3 separate regions of the Homo sapiens genome follow, and regions 1 and 3 are each linked to region 2. The links are contacts of gene promoters, found by promoter capture Hi-C in human tissues and cell types (Jung and others, 2019). All regions are on one chromosome and are shown on one strand. The core of a region is centred on a gene start or on the middle of the fragment in contact, and the rest is flanking DNA. Distances in the headings are between cores, read along the strand shown. Region 1 holds the start of ZNF555 (zinc finger protein 555). Region 2 holds the start of TCF3 (transcription factor 3). Region 3 overlaps TPGS1 (tubulin polyglutamylase complex subunit 1).

Region 1 (4,690 bases), core at 476-2,975, 1.2 Mb before region 2:
AGAGCTCCCAAAAAAATAATAGTAATAAAAGAAAACAGAAAATAACAGATCTGAGAAACGACACACACTCCAGGGAATGTTTAACAAATGGAATGTAAGACACAGATTTTAATTTTTTTCCTGAAATTCACCCCGTTGGAAGTTTTTTTTTTTTTTTGAGACGGAGTCTCGCTCTGTCACCCAGGCTGGAGTGCAATGGCGCGTTCTCAGCTCACCGCAACCTCCGCCTTCTGCGTTCAAGTGATTTTCCCGCCTCAGCCTCCCGAGTAGCTGGGACTACAGGCACCCGCCACCACGCCCAGCTAATTTTTGTATTTCTAGCAGAGACGGGGTTTCTCCATGTTGGCCAGGCTGGTCCCCAACTCCTGACCTCAAGTAATCTGCTCCCCTCGGCCTGTCACAGTGCTGGGATGACAGGCTTGAGCCACCGCGCCCGGCCTGGAAATATTTTATCTTCCAACTTCTACTAATTAAATGTACGTTTCACTTCCTAAAAACTGCTGACTCGAAAAAAGGAAAATCTTTTCACAGTGACAAACCCAGGGAGGGGTCAAGTCTGGCCAGGCTACCACGACGGACGCCCTCCCACCCCCAACTCAGGTGTTGCCTCAGCAAGGAATCCCATTGCTAGTACTCAAAACAGAACTGAGAAACGTCTTCAAATCCACACTTTCTAGGGAACCGTGAAAGAATATATTTCCGTGGTTTTAGCCCCCTCGTTTGCAGTCAGTTGCTACAGCAGTCCGAGGACACTAATGCACCAGCCTCCCGGGCGTCCCCGCTGTGGGTCTGCGTGCGTTTGCTTTTGGGGTCCTCGCTCTCCCTTGTTTCTCTAGTCTTTTCAGTTACTTTTCTTCCTTGTGTGTGAGAGCCCAGGGACCAGGAACCCTTGTTTTTTTTCCCCTTACCTACCCCAGGCATCTTGGGGTCAGAGGGGACAAGAAGTCCTCAAGAAGGAAAACCGGGACTCAGGGGAGGAAACCTCGCACGCCCCAGGGGCTGCCTTTGCAGGTGGGGGCGTCTCCGCCCCCGCCGAGGCCCCACCGCTCCCGGGCTGTCCCGGGAGGAACCCAGGGTCCCCCAGAGACCGCGGCCGGAGGCGCGGGGCCTCCAAGGAGCTGAGCCGCGGGAGCGCGAGCGGAGGCGGCACCGACCAGGGACCCGCACCCCAGGAGGCACCGCGGCGTCGGCCCCAGGGCGGGTCCCGGGGGAGCCTGGACCGCACCTCGGGGTCTCGGGCGACTCTGCCTCCCGCGGCCCGGGGGTCCCGAAGCCGCAGCGAAACGCTCCGAGGCGTCGCGGCCCCGGGCGGGGCGTGGGGGGTCGGGAGCGCAGGGACGCGGGGACCCCGGGACGACGGGGACGGAGTCGGGCTCCGGGCGCCGCTCCCCGCTCTGCAGCCTTGGGGCCAGAGGCGGGCGGGGACCCGGAGCTCGGAGCGCCCTAGCCGCGACCTCAGCGCGGGAGGCGGGGCCGGGCGGGACCCCCGGGGCCCAGGCTCCCGTCCTGCGCCGCCCTCGCCGGGGCCGCCCCCCGCGTCCCTCAGCTCCCCCCAAGCCGCGGTCTCGGGCGGTCGCCGGTTCCTGCTGCCCCGCACCGGGATCCTCTCCTGCGCCACACTCACCATGTCCCGGGGCGATTTCTTCGCTACCGGCGCAGGTGAGCGCGACAGGAACCGGGACGCCAGGGACCGCTAGGGGCAGGCGGGGCACTCACGGCTAGGACAGAGGCGTCCCGTCCCAGGGGCCTGATTAGACAGAGCTCGGGAAGCCGCGCTTCTGATTGGACAGTGCTGCCAACGTCGGCGACTCTGATTGGAGAATTCCCCAGTCCGTCCCCTGGCGCTGTAAATTGGGCAGTTCCCCGGATTCCGATTGGGCGTCCCTCATTGGATACTTGTCTCGGCCCCGCCCCCGCCCGTCCTGACTGGGTAGTTCCCTAGGGCCCACCCCCTGCCGGTGAGTGACGGGAGCGTTGCGAACACGCGTGGCTGTCCCGCCCTGCGGGGACACTGGCTTCTGGGCGAACTGGTTTCAGCCCGGGGCGGAATCGCCCTCTCCCCGCAGTTCGGGCGCCCCGCCCGCGTCCTCCTCCGGGACGGGCGTGGGAACTCCAGACTAGTTTCCTCACGAGGCGACCCCTTGTCCGGACAGGAGGTGGATGCAAGCGGGCGGCCCGGGCCTGGCAGGGCGAACGGGGGCTGGGCGCCGGGTCCGAAGGGCCGAGACCTACGTGGGGGCGGGACCCGCAGACGTGACGTCATCGCGCTGCGGGCGACATGGAGACCCCGCCCAGGGGGCTGCGAATCCGGAGACCCGGTCTGGGGGAGGCCGAACCCAAAGCCTGGCAGGGGGCAGGAGCTTTGCTCAAATCAACCAGAAGATATGAGATGTTCATTAAAACCCTCACATTTGGCTGGGCGCAGTGGCTCACGCCTGTAATCCCAGCACTTTGGGAGACCGAGGTGGACGGATCATCTGAGTTCAGGAGTTTGAGACCATCGTGGCCAATATGGTGAAACCCTTTCTCTACTAAAAATACAGAAATCAGCCCGGCGTGGTGCCGGGCGCCTGTAATCTCAGCTACTGGGGATGCTGGGGCAGGAGAATTGCTTGAACCCGAGAGGTGGAGGTTGTAGTGACCCGAGATCGCCCCACTGCAGTCTAGCCTGGGCGACAGAGTGAGACTCCATATTAAAAAACAAAAAAACTCTCAAGTTCATATTTTAAACTCTAAGGAAAATGTTTTCAGATCATTTTTTTAAGTACATCCCCCCAAAATTTGGAAGATTGAAAAGCTGGCCGGGCGCTGTGGCTCACGCCTGTAATCCCAGCACTTTGGGAGGCCGAGGCGGGCGGATCACCTGAGGTCAGGAGTTCAAGACCAGCCTGCCCAACATGGCAAAACCCTGTCTCTACTAAAAATACAAAATTAGCCGGGCGTGGTGGCGCGCACCTGTAATCCCAGCTAGGGAGGCTGAGGCAAGAGAATCGCTTGAGGCCGGGCACGGTGGCTCACGCCTGTAATCCCAGCACTTTGGGAGGCCGAGGCGGGCGGATCACGAGGTCAGGAGATCGAGACCATCCTGGCTAACACGGTGAAACCCCGTCTCTACTAAAAAATACAAAAAAATTAGCCAGGCCTGGTGGCGGGTGCCTGTAGTCCCAGCTACTCGGGAGGCTGAGGCGGGAGAATGGCGTGAACCCGGGAGGCAGAGGTTGCAGTGAGCCGAGATCGCGCCACTGCACTCCACCACTCCAGCCTGGGTGACAAAGCGAGACTCCGTCTCAAAAACAAACAAACAAACAAACAACAACAACAAAAACAAAAAGAATCGCTTGAACCCAGGGAGGCAGAGGTTGCAGTGAGTCAAGATCATTCCACTGCACTCCAGCCTGGGGGACACAGCAAGACTCCGTCTCAAAAAAAAAAAAAAAAAAAAAAGGAAGTCTATAATATTGCACAACAGGAACGTATCTAACGCCACTGAACTTTAGACTTAAAAATGATGAACATGGTAAATATTTGTTATTTGTATTTTACTACAATTTTTAGATGTTATATTTAAAACAGAAAAGGCTATATTTCTAAGGATATTGAATCCCTATTTTAACTGATATAAGAAAAACACGCAAAAGTTTAAATGAATTGGATTGAACCTTAGGAGGGAAGTGTTTTTTTTTTAAATTTTTGGTTTTTTCAGTCTTGCTCTGTCACCCAGGCTGGAGTGCAATGGCAGGATCCCGACTCACTGTAAACTCCACCTCCCGGGTTCAAGTGATTATCGTACCTCAGCCTTCCGAGTAGGTGAGACTACAGACCTGCCCCGCCACACCCAGCTAATTTTTTTGTTTTTTGTTTTTTTGAGACGCAGTTTCGCTCTTGTTGCCCAGGCTGGAGTGCAATGGCGAGATCTCGGCTCACTGCAACCTCTGCCTCCCAGGTTCAAGCGATTCTCCTGGTTCAGCTTCCCGAGTAGCTGGGACTACAGGCACCTGCCATCATGCCTGGCTAATTTTGTATTTTTAGTAGAGACGGGGTTTCTCCGTGGTGGTCGGGCTGGTCTCGAACTCCCAACCTTATGTGATCCACCCGCCTCGGCCTCCCAAAGTGCTGGGATTACAGGTGTGAGCCACCACGCCTGGCCTACTAATTTTTATTTTTTTAGTAGAGATGAGGTTTCACCATGTTGGCCAGGCTGGTCTCAAACTCTTGACCTCAGGTGATCCACCTGCCTCGGACTTGCAAAGTGCTTGGATTACAGGTGTGAGCCACCACACCCAGCCTTCAATTTTTTTTAAAAAAAGGAAAAACGATTGTGATAGGCCTGAAAACACTGAATACACTTAATAGACAGGGGCTGAAAACCAAACACAGTTAATGGTTATTCATTTCAGAAAACTCCATAGCTTAAGTGGTTGTTCAAATTCTGATATTGACATTTCATTTAGAAACAATTTTTAAAATTTATTTTTATCTTTCCTAGGAAGGTTTTACACACTTTTATAAAAATTAATGTTTAGAGGACTGACATAGGAAAGCAGCTTCCAGTTAAAAATAGTGTGCCCGGGCTCGGTGGCTCACGCCTCTAATCCCAGCACTTTGGGAGGCTGAGGTGGGTGGACAACCTGAGGTGAGGAGTTTGAGACCAGCCTGGCCAACATGGTGAAAGCCCCATCTCTAATAAAAA
Region 2 (5,016 bases), core at 1,687-4,186:
AGGCGCGAGCCCCAGGGTGCCCTGGGGCCCAGGGAGGAGACCCCTAGTCTCAGTTTCCTCATCTGTACGATACGTGGAACCACACAGGCAGGAGGACCTCACAGGAAAGAGCCACATTCAGGACTAGACAAGGGGTCCCTCATGGGTCATCCTGCCGGGACAGCAGGGACTGAGTCCATCACTGTCCACAGTGCTACGATGCGCGGCACAAGGCCCCGTTCGCTGTCAGTGCCCGATAATTGAATAGTCTTGTACGGCGCAGTGGCACACGCCTGTAATCCCAGCACTCTGGGAAGCCAAGGCGGGAGGATCACTTGTGCCTAGGAGTTCAAGACCAGCCTGGGCAACATAGGGAGAACCCCGTCTCTACAAAAAATACAAAATTAGCTGGGTGTGGTGGCGCGTGCCTGTGGTCCCAGCTACTCGGGAAACTGAGGCGGGAGGATCGTTTGAGCCCAGGAGGTCAAGGCTGCAGTGAGCTGTGATCTCACCACTGCACTCCAGCCTGGGCAACAGAGCGAGACTCTTTCTCAAAATAATAATAATAATAATAAGAAGAAGAAGAAGAAGAAGAAGAAGAAGAAGAAGTCCGTGATTGGATGGTTGCTTCCCTTCCGTGGGTGAAACTGAAGGGCTCCTCGGGAGGACTCCGGCTGCCACACTATGGCTTGGACCCTGAGTGTGGGTGGGGAGTGGCCCACAGTGAGCTCCCTACACTGGAATGGGGAGAGCCAGACCCGGCCACAGACACCCTCAGACCCATGGGGTCAGGGCTGGGCCACAAGGAAGGGCCGGGGGCTGAGGAGGCTGGGGTGGGATTGGAGCTGCTTGGAGACCCTGGCTCCGGAGAGGCCTCTGCGGGGGTGGGGGGCGGCTGAGGAAGGCAGGCATCAGCTGTGAGCACCTACTGTGTGCCAGACTCCCCCCTTCCACTGTCCAGATGGAGAAACCGAGGCCCGGAGAGTAGCACGAACTTGCCTGAGGTCACAGTGAGGTGGAGAGGGATGAGGGATTTGCAGCACAGACCCTGGGACCCACAGCCCTCTCCCCAGACCTGCGGCACGTGGAACTCTCTGGGCACGGAGGGTCGGACTGTGGACAGCCCAGTTTGGGTGTATAGCAGGAGGGGCTTGTGGCTTTGGTGGGGGGCCCCTGTGGCCCCGCCTCCCCGCCGGCCTGGCATAGGTGCAGCATTGAACTGTGATGACTCAGGGGCTCCAGATAGGGGTGGGAAAAGCCTCCCAGGTAGAGGACAAAGCAAACGTAGAGGCCCGGGGTGGGGATGAGCTTAGCAAGTTCTGGACCATCCAGAGGGCAGGATGGCTGGAGCCAAGCGGGCCAGCGAGATGGTGGCATCTTCCCAGGCTGGGAGTGGAGTGTAAATTTCCCTTTGGGGCCCCAGGGAGCCCTGGGAGATTGTGTTATTTTCATTTATTTGTTTAGTTATTTTACTTTTTTTTTTGAGACGGAGCCTCGTTCTGTCGCCCAGCCTGGAGTGCAGTGCTGCGATCTCTGCTCACTGCAACCTCTGCCTCCTGGGTTTAAGCGATTCTCCTGCCTCAGCTTCCCGAGTAGCTGAGATTATAGGTGTATGCCACCACGCCCAGCTAATTTTTGTATTTTTATTTTATTTTACTTATTTATTTATTTATTTTGAGACGGAGTTTCGTCCTTGTTGCCCAGGCTGGAGTACAATGGCGTGCTCTCGGCTCATTGCAACCTCCGCCTTTCGGGTGAAAGCGATTCTGCTGCCTCAGCCTCCCGAGTAGCTAGGACTACAGGTGCCCGCCACCATGCCCGGCTAATTTTTGTATTTTTAGTAGAGATGGGGTTTCACCGTGTTGGCCAGAGAGGTCTCGAACTCCTGACTTCAGGTGATCTGCCCGCCTTGGCCTCCCAAAGTGCTGGGAATACAAGCGTGGGCCACCGCGTCCGGTCAACTTTTTAAATTATTATTTTAAATTATTTTAAATATTTTTAGAGACGGGTGTGGGTGGGGGGGGTTTCACTATGTTGTTCAGGCTGTTCTCGAACTCCTGGCCTCAAGCGATCTTCCCGCCTCGGCCTCCTTCAAAGCGCTGGGATCACAGGCAGGAGCCACGGCGCCCGATCCTAGGCGGGGTCACTTTTTACTAAAATGTAGACACGGACTACTAAGAATCAGGAAGCCAGATCTGGCCTGAGTTCTGTCCAAAGTCAGGTCCAAATTCACAGATGCCGAGACGGAGACTCAAGTCGGCAAAGGCACCGCTGAGACTCCCCGCGGGGCTCTCTGACCCAGAGCCGGAGCCAGAGTCGGTTTTCCCGCCGGGAAAATGGGTCTGACGTAGCCCCCTCGGGGCCGTGATACCCGCTCGCACCACTCAGCACGCGGGGCCGGCCCGAGGAACGCAAATATAACCAAGCAGAAGGCTCCGCGCGGGCGGCCACGCCAACCTGAGAACAAAACTCCAGGACCCACCCCGGCCGCCTCTCGCGGCCTCTCGCTCGCAGAGTCCCGCCTCTGCTGAGGGGCGGGGCCGAGAAGAAAGGAGGCGGGGCCTCACCACGAATGGCTAGGATCCCCGCCCATCAGACTTTCGCGGCTTCCGATTGACCAGACTGCTCTGCCTTAGCTTTCAATCTCACGGGCCTTACTCGCTTGCGTCATGGACTAAGCGCACAGCTCGTGTGTGCTTCCGCGGACGGGGATAGTCCGTGATTTCTCCCCGCGCCGTGGCCCGACCGCCTCCTCTGCGCGTCCCCGCTCCCAGGCTCTGGACCTCACGGGATTCGGGGTCCTCACGAGGGTGCTCGAGAGGCCGAGCTAGGGCGTTCGGGCCCGAGCCGCCCGGAGGTGGCGGAGGGATCCGCGTGGGCCGCCGGGCGGGGCACTCGGGGGCGGGGCAGGGGCGGGGCCTGCACGGGGCGGGGCGGGGCGGCGCGGGCGGGGGGCGGAACATGTCTCCCGCCGCAGGAAGATGAGGCAGCGGCGGCGGCTGCGGGCGTAGCGGGCCGGAGCCGACGCGGCGGCGGGCACCGCGGGCACCGCGCACGCCGCTGCCCCAGGGGCGCCCCGGCCGGCCGCGCGCACGGGCCCCGCGGGACGGGCCACGCGGGGGTGGGAGGGGCCCGGGCCACGCGCGCCGCCGCCGCCGCCCACGCGCGACCCTCGGGGGCCCGGCCGCGACGCACCTTTGTCCGGGGGGGGGCCCCCCCGCTTCATGCCGCCGCCCCCCCCCACGCGCCGCGTGCCCGGCCGCGCCCAGCAGGTGAGCCCGGCGGGGGGCGGGGGGCGCGCCCGGTACCCCCGTGCTTTGTGCCCAGGGAACCCCGGCCCGCCCCGCGCGCGCTTGTTGGGGGGGGGCGCGGAGGAAGTTGGGGCGGGGGCGGTGTCGGGGGGCGCCCCGCGGCCCGGGAGTCATTGTTCTCCAACTTCGCGCGGCGCCGGGGGGGCGGCGACGTGGAGGAGCCCGGAGCTCGCCAGGCCCGCGTCGCCCCCGTCGGGCCGGGCACTTCGGGAAACTTTAAGCAGCCCCGGGCGGGGGCGCGGGGGGCGCCGGACGGGCTGTGCAACTTAGGCGCGAGGACCGTCCCCCCCAGCCCGGGCGCACGGGGACCCCGGGGCGCCCCCTTTCTCGGGTAGAGGGGGGCCCGGCCCGGGCGCCGGAGTTTGGGGTGGGGAGCGCGCGGGAGGGACGTCCTTTTGTCTGCGCGGGGAAGGTGCCGCGCGCTGCAGGCGCTGGTCGGGGCCGGGCGGGCCGGGGGGGGGCGCGCGGGTAACATCTGCTCCGCGTTAATGCGGGGCGAGGCGGCGGCCGCGCTGCGAGCTTCAAAGGCTCCCGGGCCGCACCGCCTGCACCGGCTGCGGGGGGAGGGGGGTCCGGCTTCCCGGGCCGCCTCCCCCCGGGAAAAAGGCGTTCCAGCGCGCCCCCCGCCTTCGGCGCCGTGCAAAGTGGCTTCAAACATTCTCCAAGTCTCTCAAAGTCCTTGGGACGCCCCAGAAGTCTTCCAGCTCCCGTAGAATGCCCGTTTTAGCTCGCCACCCCCCCAACTAAGTCTGTCTTAAAATCGGTTTCAGCTACCCCACAAAAAAGTGCGGTTTCGTAGTCCTCAAAAAAAGTCAGTTTCACACGCCCTCCAAAAAAGAAAAAAACTGAGCGGGGGAGGGGCTGCGCTGGGGCGCCCGCTTCACACCCGGCCTCCAGTTGGCAGACAAAGAGGGGATTTCTCTGCTTCTGAAGTTGGGTCTCCCTCGACCTCGGAGGCTCCTCCCCACCCCCAGCCTCGGAGGTGTCTCCCGGGCTGCCCCCGTCCCCACCTGGGGACCCCTGGGGAAAGTCGAGACTGGAGGGGCCTGGAGTGCATTTCTTTGGAATGGAAATTTTTCTCTGTACCTTTTTCTGGGGGTGGAATGGGTCTTGGCAGGTGGATCCCCCATCCCCCATCTTAGAATGGAGCCCCCTGGGACCACGCGGGAGCACCCTGGTCTTGAGACGCTCTCCCCGCTCATGGAGGGCAGGCAAGGGATGTTGTCAAAGTTTTGCTTAAAAATAATTCCCGGATACATCGCGACAGTAAAGCAATCTAGGGCTGTTTTTTTTTTCTTTCCTGAATACTGTTGGGGTTTTCTTGGGGGGAGGGAGATTGAGGGTGGAGGAAAGCTTTGCTGGTCCCTGCATAGGATGCGCGTCCCCCCCACCCCCGGCACTTTAAGTCTTGAAGCTTGTAAAAGAGTTTCGTGGTTTTCTGACTTGTGGATTTCCTTCATGTTGAATTTGGGGGCGACCTGGTCTTCAACGGGCTGTGCCATCTGCTGGGGGAGGGGGGAATCACCAAATTTCCCTCGGGGCGGGGTAGGATCGGGCTGTTCCTCCCTTTCCCGGGGGTAGGGGGCCTCAGAGGAAGCCCGGGGTTGGTTGGAAATGAGAGAGTTGGAGAAAGGAGAGGTTCTGGCTGCCCTGCGTGCAGTTTAAACTTGGCAACTTGATGCCCTGGTGTTCCCTGGGGGAGTTAGGGAGTTTATATTTGCACACC
Region 3 (4,905 bases), core at 314-2,813, 1.1 Mb after region 2:
AGGCCAGGCACGGTGGCTCACGCCTGTCATCCCACCACTTTGGGAGGCCGAGGCAGGCGGATCATGAGGTCAGGAGATCGTGACCATACTGGCTAACACGGTGAAACCCCGTCTCTACTAAAAATGCAAAAAATTAGCTGGGCGTGGTGGTGGGCACCTGTAGTCCCAGCTACTCGGGATGCTGAGGCAGGAGAATGGCGAATGGTGTGAACCCAGGAGGCGGAGCTTGCAGTAAGCCGAGATCACGCCACTGGACTCCAGCCTGGGTGATAGAGCGAGACTCTGTCTCAAAAAATTAAAATAAAATAAAATTCTGTTCCCGTGTGTGGTGTTAGAATAGAGAGTAGTTTTCTTCCTCAGTTCCCGGATCATAGCTCCTGAAGCCCTAGTTGCAGTCTTTTGCTGCACTGCTGAGCTCGTTAGGCCTCAGGAAATAATCTCCCGCCCTCCTCTGGGCTGCAGAGCTCTAATCTTACCTTTTCGATTACGGGTCTTGGGACCCTCCCCAAAGAGGGTCCTGCCCTATACCCCTGGGGAAGTAATGCTGACATCATGAAGCTTCCATAAAATCCCTAGGCCGCGTGTGGTGGCTCACGCCTGTAATCCCAGCACTTTGGGAGGCTGAGGTGGGTGGATCACCTGAGGTCAGGAGCTTGAGACCAGCCTGGCCAACGTGGTGAAACCCCGTCTCTACTAAAAATACAAAAGTTAGCCAGGTGTGGTGGTGGGCGCCTGTAATCCCAGGTACTCAGGAGGCTGAGCCAGAAGAATCGCTTGAACTCAGGAGGGGGAGGTTGCAGTGAGCCGAGATTGCGCCACTGCACTCCAGCCTGGGTGGCAGAGCAAGACTCCGTCTCAAAAATGAACAAACAAACAAAAAACCACGAAACCCTAGAGAACTGGGTTCTGGGGAGCTTCCAAGAGCTGAACATGTGGAGATGCCTGGAAGCTCTGAGATGGTGCCCTGTGCATCCTCATGGCACTCCAATCCCCACCCTACACGTACCTCACCTGTGGTCCCTTCTTCTGCTATCTTTGCCACATCCTTTATAGTAAACCAGGAAACACAAGTGTTTCCGAGTTCAGTGAGCTGCTCCAGCAAATTAATTGAACCCAAAGGGGTGCTGGGAACCCCAACTTGAACCCGGCCAGACCGAAGTCCTGGAAGCCCAGATTCGCAACTGGTGTCTGAAGAGGGAGAGGCTCGGGGACTGAGCCCTCGGCCTGTGGGATCTGACACTATCTCTGGGTAGAAGGCGTCAGAGCTGAATTAAGAGGACACCCGGCTGGCGTCTGCTGGTTGGTGTGTGGGAAAAAACGCTCCCACATGTGGTCACAGAAGTCTTTTCTGTGTGGATGACTGTGATGTGGCGGTGACAGCAGGGGAGAAACAAGGCTTGAGTGTTCTCTATGTCCGATTGGACCCCCTCCACCAGAACAGGCTGTGGGGACTCCCATTTAACAGGAGACACTGAGGCCAAGGGAGTGAAGTCACCTGCCAGCAACTGGAGCTGGAGTTCTGGATTCACTTTTTATTTTTTTATTTTTTTGAGACGGAGTCTCGCTCTGTCACCCAGGCTGGAGTGCAGTGGCGCGATCTCGGCTCACTGCAAGCTCCGCCTCCTCGGTGCACGCCATTCTCCTGCCTCAGCCTCCAGAGTAGCTGGGACTACAGGTGCCCGCCACCACGCCCGGCTCATTTTTTGTATTTTTAGTAGAGACAAGGTTTCACCATGTTAGCCAGGATGGTCTCCATCTCCTGACCTCGTTATCCACCTGCCTCTGCCTCCCAAAGTGCTGGGATGACAGGCGTGGGCCACTGCGTCTGGCCTGTTTTTTTTTTGTTGTTGTTGTTTTGTTTTTGAGACAGGGTCTCACTCTGTCGCACAGATTGGAGTGCAGTGGCTCAATCTCGGCTCACTGCCACTTCTGCCTCCTGGGTTCAAGTTATTCTCCTGCCTCAGCCTCCTGAGTAGCTGGGATTACAGGCGCCTGCCACCACAGCCCAGCTTTTTTTTTTTTTCGTATTTTTAGTAGAGACAGGGTTTCACCATGTTGGTCAGGCTGATCTTGAACTCCTGACCTCAAGTGATCCGCCGCCTTAGCCTCCCAAAGTGCTGGGGTTACAGGTGTGAGCCACCACGCCCGGCTGGATTCGCTCTTGCAGTCTGAGAAGTGATTCTGGTTGGTGGTGGTGGGCACTGGGGGATACCGGACGACCCTCCCCACCGGTGGCGAGTGGGCTGCGTTCTGGAGCAGGCCGGGCGCAGATCCCAGCTGAGCCCTTGCTGAGGGTGTAACCTCCGCTGCCTGGGCCTGGGAATCAATCACATGAGGCACTTCAGTTCCTGGGAAGTGTTAGGGCTGTTGTCTCACCAATGTCACTACCATCTGCCCAGCTGGCCTCTTCATTTGACATCTGGGGAGACTGAGGCTCAGGGAGGATACCTGGGCCGGGCGGGGCTGGAGGGCCCGGGCCCTGCGTTCCAGAAGAGCCGCCTGCTCTCCGGCTTCAGGCTCCGCAGGGCCCCGTGGGGCGTCCCCCTCCGCTGCTCCCACCAGGCCGGGTCCAGGGGTCCCGGCGTTTCCGGCCTCGAATCCAGCCTCCAGTCGCCGCGGTTCCGGGGCCGTGGGTGACCTGCTGGGGAAAAGCGTCTTCTGCGGGCACCGGGGCTGGGAGGCGGGCGCTCGCATACACACCAGCGTCAGCCTCGCAACACATTTTATTAGCGTGGGGCAGGGGCTCCCGCGGGGGTGGAGGGGCGGCCGCGGCGCTGTGTGGGGACCGGGCGTCCGCTTCCTGGGAGCCCCGGCCTCCTCCGCAGGGCTGGGCGCCTGGTTATGGCAGGGCCTCACCAGGGCGAAGGGAAGGCTCCGCGCGCCCCGCACGCGGGGACCCCCCAGCGCAGATCCCGGATCCGCGCGGCCCACGGGCCTCAGCCCACCGGCTTGACCTTCGCGATGAAGAGCGCGGCGGCCCTCTCCAGAAACTCCTCGCGGGTCATGGGCGCGCTGGGCCGCCGCCCCCCGACGGCGCGGTCCAGCGCCAGCGCCAGGCTGTCGGGCCCCAAGCGCGAGCCGGCCTCCAGGAAGCGCGCGGGCGCGGCGGCGTCGCTGGCCTGCAGCGCGCCCTCCAGGGTGTCCAGCACGGCCTGGCCCACGCGGCGGTCGGCCACGGCGGCGGCCGAGTCCTCCAGCAGCTGGAAGAGCGCGCCGGCGCGCGCCACGAACTCCAGCAGCACGAAGCAGGTGAGTGTGCCCGCGCGGAAGACGCTCAGCGGCACCGCCTCGTGGTCACGGCACTGCACCTTGCGCAGCAGCGGCGCCACCACCTCCTCGGGGGCTTGGCCGTCCCGGCAGATGCGCCTGAGCAGCTCGCTGTAGGTGCGCCCGTCCAGCCCCGGCCTCTTCCTGCGCCCGCCGGCGCTCAGGCACTCGTAGGCCACGCTCACGTTGTTGTTGAAGGCGGCCCTGCGGAGACGGGGACGTTGGGGGCCGGCAGAGACCGCGCGCCCACCCAGCCCCAGCCTCCCCTCCTCGCCAGGCCTATGCCCTAGCCTCCCCGACCCCCCAGCCAGCCCTGGCCTCCCCTCTCCTCCTACCCCCCATCCCCGGCCTCCCCTCCTCCTCACCCTCTATCCCTGAAGCTCCTCTCTTGAGCCCCCGCCTCCCTTCTCCCAGCTAGGGCCTCTCCTCCCCGCAGCATCCCCAGCCCGGGCCTCTCCTCCCCCAAGCATCCCCAGCCCGGGCCTCTCCTCCCCCCAGCATCCCCAGCCCAGGCCTCCCTCCTCCCAGTCCCCTCCCAGCCCAGGCCTCCCTCCCCCAAGCATCCCCAGCCTGGGCCTCTCCTCCCCCAGCATCTCCAGCCCAGGCCTCCTCCTCTCAGCCCCCTCCCAGCCCTGGCCTCTCCTCCCCCCAGTATCCCAAGCCCAGGCCTCCCTCCTCCCAGCCCCTACCCAGCCCGGGCCTCCCTCTTCCCAGCCCCTACTCAACCTGGGCCTCCCCTCCCCACCCCACCAGCACTCCCAGCCTGGGCCTCCCTCCTCCCAGCCCCTACCCAGCCTGGACCTCCCCTCCTCCCAGCTCCCACCCAGCCTGGCCTCCCTCCTCCCAGCCCCTACCCAGCCGGGGCCTCCCTCTTCCCAGCCCCTACTCAACCTGGGCCTCCCCTCCCCACCCCACCAGCACTCCCAGCCTGGGCCTCCCTCCTCCCAGCTCCCACCCAGCCTGGCCTCCTTCCTCCCAGCACCCCCCAGCCCGGGGCTCCCTCCTCCCAGCACCCACCCAGCCAGGCCTTCCTCCTCCCAGCACCCCCTCAGCCTGGGCCTCCCCTCCCCACCAGCACCCCCAGCCTCGGCCTCCTCCCAACCTGGATCTCCCTCCTCCCAGCCTCTACCCAGCCTGGGCCTCCTCCCAACCTGGATCTCCCTCCTCCCAGCCTCTACCCAGCCTGGGCCTCCTCCTCCCAGCCCCCACCCAGCCTGGCCTCCCTCCTCCCAGCACCGCCCAGCCCGGGCCTCCCCTCCCCACCAGCACCCCCAGCCTCGGCCTCCTCCTCCCAACCTGGGTCTCCCTCATCCCCGCCTCCACCCAGCCTGGCCTCCCCCGTCCCAGCCCCTACCCAGCCTCGGCCTCCTCCTCCCAGCACCCCCCAGCCTGGCCTCCCCCCTCCCAGCCCCCACCCAGCCTGGCCTCCGTCCTCCCAGCACCCCCCAGCCTGGGTCTCCCCCCTTCTAGCCCCCACCCAGCCTGGCCTCCCTCCTCCCAGCCCCCACCCATCCTGGCCTCCCCCCTCCCAGCCCCCACCCAGCCTGGCCTCCGTCCTCCCAGCACCCCCCAGCCTGGGCCTCCCCCCTTCCAGCCCCCACCCATCCTGGCCTCCATCCTCCCAGCCCCCACCCAGCC

Evidence for each region. The method cuts DNA at HindIII sites, captures the fragments that hold promoters and counts their contacts. A contact is called where the count stands out against the background at its distance.
Region 1: a contact is called between the fragment with the promoter of ZNF555 here and the fragment with the promoter of TCF3 in region 2, in 1 of the 25 tissues and cell types used here (small bowel).
Region 3: a contact is called between a fragment that was not itself captured here and the fragment with the promoter of TCF3 in region 2, in 1 of the 25 tissues and cell types used here (heart left ventricle).

Annotation. Positions count from the first base shown.
Region 1 is chr19:2,838,510-2,843,199 of GRCh38, reverse strand. ZNF555 (zinc finger protein 555) reads right to left here and starts at 1,725. Exons shown (of 4, transcript NM_152791.5): 1 at 1,625-1,725. The coding sequence starts at 1,627. RefSeq lists silencers at 1,345-1,394, 1,435-1,734, 1,955-2,144, 2,155-2,264. The HindIII fragment of the contact is 15,507 bases long and covers 1-4,690 here.
Region 2 is chr19:1,650,535-1,655,550 of GRCh38, reverse strand. TCF3 (transcription factor 3) reads left to right here and starts at 2,936. Exons shown (of 19, transcript NM_003200.5): 1 at 2,936-3,251. RefSeq lists enhancers at 2,198-2,307, 2,428-2,477 and silencers at 2,768-2,817, 2,828-2,957, 3,488-3,567, 3,658-3,887, 3,695-3,917 and 1 more. The HindIII fragment of the contact is 17,847 bases long and covers 1-5,016 here.
Region 3 is chr19:517,455-522,359 of GRCh38, reverse strand. It overlaps TPGS1 (tubulin polyglutamylase complex subunit 1), which reads right to left. Exons shown (of 2, transcript NM_033513.3): 2 at 2,706-3,471. The coding sequence ends at 2,937. Among named protein-coding and RNA genes, the nearest start is that of CDC34, 12 kb to the left of the region's middle. RefSeq lists an enhancer at 2,996-3,902. The HindIII fragment of the contact is 4,635 bases long and covers 1-3,880 here.